Linked DNA regions of Homo sapiens: all the other regions are linked to region 1. The links are contacts of gene promoters, found by promoter capture Hi-C in blood cells and fetal thymus (Javierre and others, 2016). All regions are on one chromosome and are shown on one strand. The core of a region is centred on a gene start or on the middle of the fragment in contact, and the rest is flanking DNA. Distances in the headings are between cores, read along the strand shown. Region 1 holds the start of CDC20 (cell division cycle 20). Region 2 overlaps IPO13 (importin 13). Region 3 overlaps ERMAP (erythroblast membrane associated protein (Scianna blood group)).

The links. Contacts are between HindIII fragments. The CHiCAGO score rates a contact against its expected background, and 5 or more counts as called.
Region 2: a contact is called between a fragment that was not itself captured here and the fragment with the promoter of CDC20 in region 1, in 1 of 17 cell types (naive B cells). The highest score is 5.0, in naive B cells.
Region 3: a fragment that was not itself captured here is called in contact with the fragment with the promoter of CDC20 in region 1 in 2 of 17 cell types (neutrophils and erythroblasts); the score reaches 7.0 in neutrophils.

What each region holds. Positions count from the first base shown.
Region 1 is chr1:43,357,472-43,360,397 of GRCh38, forward strand. It overlaps CDC20 (cell division cycle 20), which reads left to right and starts at 1,510. Exons shown (of 11, transcript NM_001255.3): 1 at 1,510-1,535; 2 at 1,696-1,925; 3 at 2,019-2,167; 4 at 2,254-2,350; 5 at 2,498-2,626; 6 at 2,722-2,918. The coding sequence starts at 1,745. It overlaps CDC20-DT (CDC20 divergent transcript), which reads right to left and starts at 1,202. Exons shown (of 4, transcript NR_183650.1): 1 at 1,079-1,202; 2 at 571-637; 3 at 332-429. RefSeq lists enhancers at 279-787, 899-958, 1,298-1,806 and silencers at 1,249-1,358, 1,549-1,698. The HindIII fragment of the contact is 10,275 bases long and covers 980-2,926 here.
Region 2 is chr1:43,948,165-43,951,090 of GRCh38, forward strand. IPO13 (importin 13) reads left to right here. Exons shown (of 20, transcript NM_014652.4): 2 at 1,253-1,989. Among named protein-coding and RNA genes, the nearest start is that of IPO13, 2.7 kb to the left of the region's middle. The HindIII fragment of the contact is 2,008 bases long and covers 424-2,431 here.
Region 3 is chr1:42,822,755-42,825,680 of GRCh38, forward strand. It overlaps ERMAP (erythroblast membrane associated protein (Scianna blood group)), which reads left to right. Exons shown (of 12, transcript NM_001017922.2): 2 at 2,869-2,926. Among named protein-coding and RNA genes, the nearest start is that of SVBP, 6.8 kb to the left of the region's middle. The HindIII fragment of the contact is 2,034 bases long and covers 408-2,441 here.

The DNA of each region.
Region 1 (2,926 bases), core at 260-2,759:
CTACTTATTATTGGCTGCATGCCTTTGGGCAAGTTTCTAATCTTTCTGACCCAGTTTCTTTTTTCTGTAAAGGGAAGATGGGGTATCTATCTGCCTTATGGGATTAAGGATTGAACTCGATAATGTATGTAAACTTTTTTTTTTTTTTTCAGACAGAGTATCGCTCTGTTGCCCAGGCTGGAGTGCAGTGGCTCGATCTCGGCTCACTGCAAGCTCCGCCTCCCGGGTTCACGCCATTCTCCTGCCTCAGCCTCTCGAGTAGCTGGAACTACAGGCGCCCGCCACCAAGCCCGGCTAATTTTTTGTATTTTTAGTAAAGACGGGGTTTCACCGTGTTAGCCAGGATGGTCTCGATCTTCTGACTTCGTGATCTGCCCGCCTCGGCCTCCCAAAGTGCTGGGATTACAAGCGTGAGCCACCGCGCATGGCCTGTAAATTGTTTTAACACAGTAGTTAGATGGTCCATAAATGGTACCATTATTACTTTTATGATTGCTGCTCCACCTCTGAGCACATTCATACAATTCACTCAAGTCATTATTAGAGCACTAGATTGAGTGCGAGTCAGACCTGGATTCCCACAAACTTCTTTGTATGACCTCGGGCACATCCCTTCCCTGGGCCTCCGTTTCTCCATCTGTAAAATATGGATTTGTTGTCGGGGTGGGGAGGCTGCACCACGCACAGGTTAGACTAATGGATCTCTAAGGTCCTCACATCTTTAAAGCCCCAAGGGGATAAGCCACAGTGCCTCCTGTAGGGCAGTCTAAGCTTATCTTCCAGATAGGCAGGTTTGAATACCGATCCTTTTTCTTGACCTTAAGGAATTCATTCACCCTTTTCAACCTCATTTTCCCTGTTTGTAAAACAACAGCAAACGAGACAAACACACGTTACTTCCTTTCTAGCAGGGTTCCTACCCGGCGCCAAGCAAAAGTGGAATGTACCCTAAGTAGCTCTGGCCTTCTTCCTGCTCCCAAGCTTCCCAATTCCGTCCCCTGCCCCGCTGCCGCCCGCGGCTCTCCTTCCCCTTCTAGGAACGGCTCAAGCGCCTTGGGCACTCCATCGGGTTCTGCACCGAGTTCTGCATCATAAATACGACTCTCGTGTAGGATTTAAGTGTGAACTTCTGCAGGTTCTCGGACCCTGAAGCACCCGGGGCCAGACATTCCGAGCTCGCGGCGGTGGAAGGCACGCAAAAGGGCGAACCGAGACGACTCCAGGACGCTGAGGCAGCGCAGGCCCCACCCGGCCCCGCCCTGCCCCGCCCTGTCCCGGCCGGCTTTCCAGTACTAGTCCTCTGGCGCCGGCTCCCAGCCCCTCTCGTACCCTTCAAATCGCGCTCCGCCGCTAGACTCTCGTGATAGCTGAGACTTTCCCCGGAAGGCCCGCCCCCTTCGCCGGAGAGGCCAATGGGCTAGGGCAACGGTTGCGACGGTTGGATTTTGAAGGAGCCAATAGGCGCTCGGAGCGGAGAGTTTAAGAGGCGTAAGCCAGGCGTGTTAAAGCCGGTCGGAACTGCTCCGGAGGGCACGGTGAGAGGTGGTGGGGCTGAGCCGAGGTGGGGCCGTGGCCAGGGGGAGGGGGTGCTAGGCCGGAAGGGGCTGCAGCCGAGGGTGGCCCTGATTTTGTGGCCGGCCAGGAGCGAAGGGGTCCCTTTCTGTCCCCTGAGCACCGTCGCCTCCTTTCCTCCAGGGCTCCGTAGGCACCAACTGCAAGGACCCCTCCCCCTGCGGGCGCTCCCATGGCACAGTTCGCGTTCGAGAGTGACCTGCACTCGCTGCTTCAGCTGGATGCACCCATCCCCAATGCACCCCCTGCGCGCTGGCAGCGCAAAGCCAAGGAAGCCGCAGGCCCGGCCCCCTCACCCATGCGGGCCGCCAACCGATCCCACAGCGCCGGCAGGACTCCGGGCCGAACTCCTGGTCAGTGAGGTGCCAAAGGAACTGAGTGAGAGCAGCCTTCATACTTTCTCCCTGGGGAGCCTGGTCAGACTGTCTTCTCTTTCTCCGCCCCAGGCAAATCCAGTTCCAAGGTTCAGACCACTCCTAGCAAACCTGGCGGTGACCGCTATATCCCCCATCGCAGTGCTGCCCAGATGGAGGTGGCCAGCTTCCTCCTGAGCAAGGAGAACCAGCCTGAAAACAGCCAGACGCCCACCAAGAAGGTATGTGTCCCAGAGGGGCTTAAGGCACGGGACCTGACTGTTCTTTGGATAATACCATCTTGCTCCTTCACTACCCTTTATGCCAGGAACATCAGAAAGCCTGGGCTTTGAACCTGAACGGTTTTGATGTAGAGGAAGCCAAGATCCTTCGGCTCAGTGGAAAACCACAAAATGCGCCAGAGGGTAAGACCCGAAGTTCCTGGTTCCTGGAGGGAGGTGTCAGTTCATCTCCAGGGCTGAGCACAGATATCTGTCTCCTCTTCCTATCTAAGATTGAGGGCAAGGGAGGTGTTGATTTTCCCAGCGTCTAGACTCACTCCGTTGCCACAGGTTATCAGAACAGACTGAAAGTACTCTACAGCCAAAAGGCCACTCCTGGCTCCAGCCGGAAGACCTGCCGTTACATTCCTTCCCTGCCAGACCGTATCCTGGATGCGCCTGAAATCCGAAATGACTATTGTAAGTGCATCCTTATCCTCGCCTCATGCATGGAGAAAGAGGGCCTGGGACCACACAAACAAGGAAGCTCATGCTCTTCTCTCCACCTCTGACAGACCTGAACCTTGTGGATTGGAGTTCTGGGAATGTACTGGCCGTGGCACTGGACAACAGTGTGTACCTGTGGAGTGCAAGCTCTGGTGACATCCTGCAGCTTTTGCAAATGGAGCAGCCTGGGGAATATATATCCTCTGTGGCCTGGATCAAAGAGGGCAACTACTTGGCTGTGGGCACCAGCAGTGCTGAGGTGCAGGTGAGACG
Region 2 (2,926 bases), core at 178-2,677, 590 kb after region 1:
AGCCAGACCAGTCCTGAGCAGGCAGGCCTGGGGCTGTCTCCCTTTGTTTTGTGCTGAGTCCAAGGGTCCTGGCCCTGCTGGGAGCCTTACAGGGCTCCTCCCTACTCGCCTGCCCACATAGCTCCCTGCCATGGCCCTCCCAGGCTCCCCGACTGCCCAGCCCATCTTTCTGAACTGCCTCTTTGGTTCTTTTCTGTATCTGCTCCCTACAACTTGAAATGCAGGAATGCATGCACCCTGGGATGAATGGGGAGATGGGGCTCCCTTACTTGAAAGCAGGGAATGATGTTCACTTGTTATCCTTAACCCCCGTTTGCCATAACAAACAATGAGGATGCATCTCTTCTGCCTGCTTTGGCGTCCCTGAGGGGCCAAACAAGGGCCAATGGCCATAACTGGCTGTCAGGGGTACAAATAGAGCTAAGCTTACTTGGATGGAGCCTGCTTAGGGGTCAGGGTCCTGGCCATACTCTTCCGCCCCTTGGAGCAGGGCAGTGTTGGCATGGTGGCGCACTGTTCCATGTGCTATTGGGAGATAAATCTCACTGTTTTCTTACTTCATAAAGTCCCGTTGGAATTGAGACCCCGGGGATTCTGCTAGTGGAGAGCACTAAGCTAGGTGTTTGCCAGGGCTGCAGCTATGGCCAAGGCTTCTCTGGATCAATTGGTTGGACATGTGCCCTCTGAGGAGTGTTCTCACCCTCTCCTCCAGCATGTCTGCCCCAGGGCTGCCTGGCAAAAGTCTTAGTCCTGCTCTGATTTCACACTGGCTTTGGTGCCAGCATCTGGACTGACCTAGGGATGATCCTGGGGGAGCTGAAAGGAGCTGTTGGAGTTGATGGGAGCAGCTGTGCCTGGGAGGGTCAAGTCCCCTCAAGCTGTTCCATGCCCTTCTCAGACTTAGCTTCATCCCTGTGAAGCTGTTCCTTCCACCTGGGCCTTGCCCTCAAGTGCCTCCCCTTTGGGGAGATCAGCCTCCTCTTTTTTGCTTTCCTGTGGAGATTCCCTCTCTGAACCCATAATGTTTTGCTGTAAGGAGAAGAGGATATGGTAGAGCATGGGCAAGGTTCAGGCTCTCAAGATATCAGCAGGACCCCAGGCCCAGGAAACACTGCAGAGCGCTGAGCTCTCCCTGCTCAGCCCCCCAGTCAGGGAGAGGGAGCAGCCTTGCAGGACCAAGTCACGCCTCTGTTCTGGGCTCTGGCAGGATCCAGAGTGGCCAGCACCTGCTCAGTCCTGTGCTGTCCTGCAGGCGCTGCACCAGCTCTACTATGATCCCAACATTGAGAATAAGAACCTGGCTCAGAAGTGGCTGATGCAGGCCCAGGTCTCCCCACAGGCCTGGCACTTCAGCTGGCAGCTACTGCAGCCCGACAAGGTACCAGAGATCCAGTACTTTGGGGCCAGTGCTCTTCACATCAAGATCTCTCGCTACTGGAGTGACATCCCCACTGACCAGTATGAAAGCCTAAAGGCACAGCTCTTCACCCAGATCACCCGCTTTGCCAGTGGCTCCAAGATTGTACTGACTCGGCTGTGCGTGGCACTGGCCTCACTGGCTCTCAGCATGATGCCTGACGCTTGGCCATGTGCTGTGGCAGATATGGTACGACTCTTCCAGGCTGAGGACTCACCAGTGGATGGGCAGGGCCGCTGCCTAGCCCTGTTAGAGCTGCTGACAGTGCTGCCTGAGGAGTTCCAGACCAGTCGCCTACCCCAGTACCGCAAAGGCCTGGTGCGGACCAGCCTGGCGGTGGAATGTGGGGCTGTCTTCCCGCTGCTGGAGCAGCTGCTACAGCAGCCCAGCTCACCCAGCTGTGTGCGTCAGAAGGTGCTCAAGTGTTTCTCCAGCTGGGTGCAGCTGGAGGTGCCGCTGCAGGACTGTGAGGCGCTCATTCAGGCTGCCTTTGCTGCTCTGCAGGACTCGGAGCTCTTCGACAGCAGTGTGGAGGCCATTGTGAATGCCATCTCACAGCCTGATGCCCAGAGGTGAGCTAGTACCCACTCACCCAGAAGACAACCTCTTTGGCCAGCCACACATCCATCCATCCATCTGTTCAATAAACATTAATTGAATGTGTACTGATACCTGGTCCTATGCTGGAGATACAGCAAGGAACCAAAGAAGACATGGTCCCTGTCCTCATGGTTCAGACAGGGAGGCAGACATTAAACAACTAATTATCAGTTATTCAATTAAAATATTTGACTCTCTTTTCCTTCTCTCAACTAGTCACCAAGTCCTGGCTGTTCCCCTCCTGACCATATTGCAAATCTATTTTTTTCCATTTCCATTGCTACCACCTTAGTCCAAGCTGTCATCATCTCTCTCCCCAGATTACTGTAGAGCTTGTCCTCACTCTTGTACCCTTCATTGTCCCAGCAGCCACAGTGATCTTTTGAAAATGGGGATCTAATCTTTCTGATCAGAAGCTTTCAGTGGCTTCTCAATGCTCTTAGGTTAAAGCTCAGAATCCTTAATGTGACTCATAATGGTGCTGCACAGTATGGCATCACTGGCCTCATCTCATGCTACTCTCCTTGCTCTCTACACGCTCACACAGTTTCTTTAATTCCTTGAATGTCCCATGTTCCTTTCAGCCTCTGGCTCATTACATATACTTGACACCTTGCCTCAGCTTAAACTTCATTTCCATAGGGAAGTCCTCCATGGATTCTTAAGGCTAAGTTTGATCTTCTCTCTTATATTACCTCAGAGCTCCCAGTATTTTTCCTTCTTAGCCCATAACATGATTTCTCTCACCTCTGTGAGGACAGGGACTCTGTCATTTTACTTTGTCGCATTGTGCTCGGCACATGGTAGCATTTGATATTTTGTGAATGGAGGAAAGTAGGAGTTGCCTGAGTTGGGAGGGGTGGGGCTGGAAGGGATTGGGGGAGGAAGGTGGATTGTTCTAGGCTTTAG
Region 3 (2,926 bases), core at 175-2,674, 530 kb before region 1:
TCTCCCTATCCTCCCCTTCCCTCTCCAGCCTCTAGTAACCTCTGTTCTGCTTTTCACTTCTATGAGATTAACTTTTTCTTTTTTTTTAACATCTAACTATGAGTGAGAACATGTGGTGTTTAACTTTCTGTGCCTGACTTATTTCATATAACGTAATGTTTTCTAGTTCCATCCATGTCACTTTGAATGATGGGATTTTATTCTTTTTAATGGCTATAAATATTTTAGATGTCTGGCTTAATAGAAGACAGCTGTATTCTCAAGCCAGCTATATCTTTCAATCTGCTGCAGTATGTTTTGTGGTTGAAGTGTATGCAATTGGAAAAGGAGCATTTCAGTAGCTTTTTCAGATAATCGTGGATATTCTTTGATAAGACACCAAAACTCAGCAAGTGGTAGTTTTTTAAAGCTTAGTTGTGACATGAAATCTGAAACCATAGCAATGACCTTTTTATACTCTATTACAGCAACACTCACAGTTTTTTCTTGCATTTTAAATGAATGTTTTACCCATGCAGGGTTTTGTCAACACACCCATTGGTCATTTGGAAATTGCTGAGTCACTGAGTTTTACAGATCTTCTAAATGTTGACACATTTCATTATACAACATCAAAAAATCACATTTATTAATATCAATGCCAATCTCATCAGAAAAGTCTTTTGCTATTGTGAGGGTATCAAGCAGCAGATAAAAATTTTCCAAAATTCTAATTTTTGCTCAAAAGATTGAATGTTCTCATTGACAACAAACACTGTCAGTTGCTTTTCCTGAAGTGACAGGTGCACTTTATTCATTTTGGAGAAAATGCCTGCCAAATACCCAAGTCTGAATAATTATACTTTGTCTTTCAGCTGTACTTTCAGGTAAGAATGGTGCTCCATGAGTCAAGCGATTACTTCAGCTCACAACTCAATCACTTAAGGTTTTTTCCTCGATAAAGTCATCATACTTTGATATGCAGCGTAACTGTTTATGCATCCTTCCCATTTTGTCACACAAACTATTAAAAAGATGTGTATCTAAGAGTTGAAATTTAATAAAATTTGTAACTTCTACTACAGTTTGGTGCCACTTCCTGATTTGTGCTAGCTGTTTTACCCACTATTGCTTTTGCAGTGTCCTTGAAAATGTCAATACCGTGAAAAAGGCAAATAACGTCTTTATTATGATGAATGTAGTTTTAACCTGGATGATAGGGCCTCAGGGACTTCAAGTGTTTGTGGACCACACATTAAGAACTGGTGCTCTAGAGAAATTCTTGCACATGTGAGCAGGAAATACCTATCAAGAATGTTCAGGGCACGAGGCCGGGCGCGGTGGCTCACGCCTGTAATCCCAGCACTTTGGGAGGCCGAGGCGGGCGGATCACAAGGTCAGGAGATCAAGACCATCCTGGCTAACACGGTGAAACCCCGTCTCTACTAAAAATACAAAAAAAAAAATAGCTGGGCGTGGTGGCGGGCGTCTGTAGTCCCAGCTACTCCGGAGGCTGAGGCAGGAGAATGGCATGAGCCCAGGAGGCGGAGCTTGCAGTGAGCCGAGATCGTACCACTGCACTCCAGCCTGGGCGACGGAGCGAGACTCTGTCTCAAAAAAAAAAAAAGAATGTTCAGGACAGTATTATTTATAAAAGCTAAAGCCCAGAAACAACCCACATTTCTATCATTAAGGGACGAGAGAAACTGTTGGTAGATTTATATAATGGTCTACTATATAGCAGTGAATGAATATCCTAGTGCTCTGTGAAACAACCTGGATTAATTTCAGTGTCTTAATTTGTACACCCCCAGAACAGAGTGTGAGGTGTGAGACAAGTACTTCAGTTCAAGAGTGTATTTAGGAGGTAATCCCAGGAAGCAGAAATGGGAATGAGCAAAAAAGGAAGAAAAGTCAATAAAAGGTGCAGTACGGAGCTACTTACCACTATGAACCACCGTGCTCACTCCCATTGGGAACACTCAGAGGAATCATGTCGAATACAGCTCAGAGCTGAAGGTGCAAGCCTGGAGCATTTTGTCTTGACTCCTCTCACTGTTGTTTATGTCTCCGAGGTGTTAGCTTTGGTGAACTTCTGGGCTGCACAGCCTTCCAAGGCTTTGTAGAAAGCCCCAAGACAGGCAAGCAGAAAAATGCCATGGCCTATGAGGTGACATGCTAGCAGCTTGCCTGCAAGTCTCAGCTACACCAAAATTGGGTGGGCTGAGGGGACATGGTGTGGGCCACCACAGATGTCTGCTAGACTCAGAAGCTAATGTTGAATAAAAAAAGGGAATAATTGGGAATTATGTACAATGGGCTCCATCTTTATAAAGTTCAAAGGACATAAAAATGTGTAATGTATTGTTAATGATATAATTATGGAGATTATGAACATACAGCTAAGGATATTATGAAAGCAAGACAGGCGGGAAGCGTTTATCACATGTTGGAAAACAGCAAGCTTGCTTATCAGAAGGCACATGTCAGGGTGTAGCTGGAGATAAAGATAGTGAGTTAAAGAAGGTGGTTAATTGGTGGATGTCTTTGAAACCAATCTTCCAATTTACTCTGATTTGAAAAGTAAAGGGGGAAGGTTTTCAGAAAGAATGTGATAGGATCAAAACGCATCAGAGGGAATTACTATTGGCAGCATTGGAGGAAAAGGGAGTGGAGGGGCAAACGTGCCTCCTACCCGGTCAGTCATACTCAGTGGTTCCCTCATTTTTGGGAGCCTCCTCTTTGCTCTGTTCTTTTATCAGGGGCATACAGACAGGGTGTGGCTTGCTGGTTTACAGGGACAGCGAGAAGGGAGTTCTGTGGGGGCAGAGAGAGCCCTGGCCTCTCATATTTCATAAAATATGAACTTTTCCCGGCCCACATCCCTAGGCCTTCCTGATGCGCTTGCCTGCTCCCTGGTCTCTCTGCATGGGGAAGGAGTGTTCCC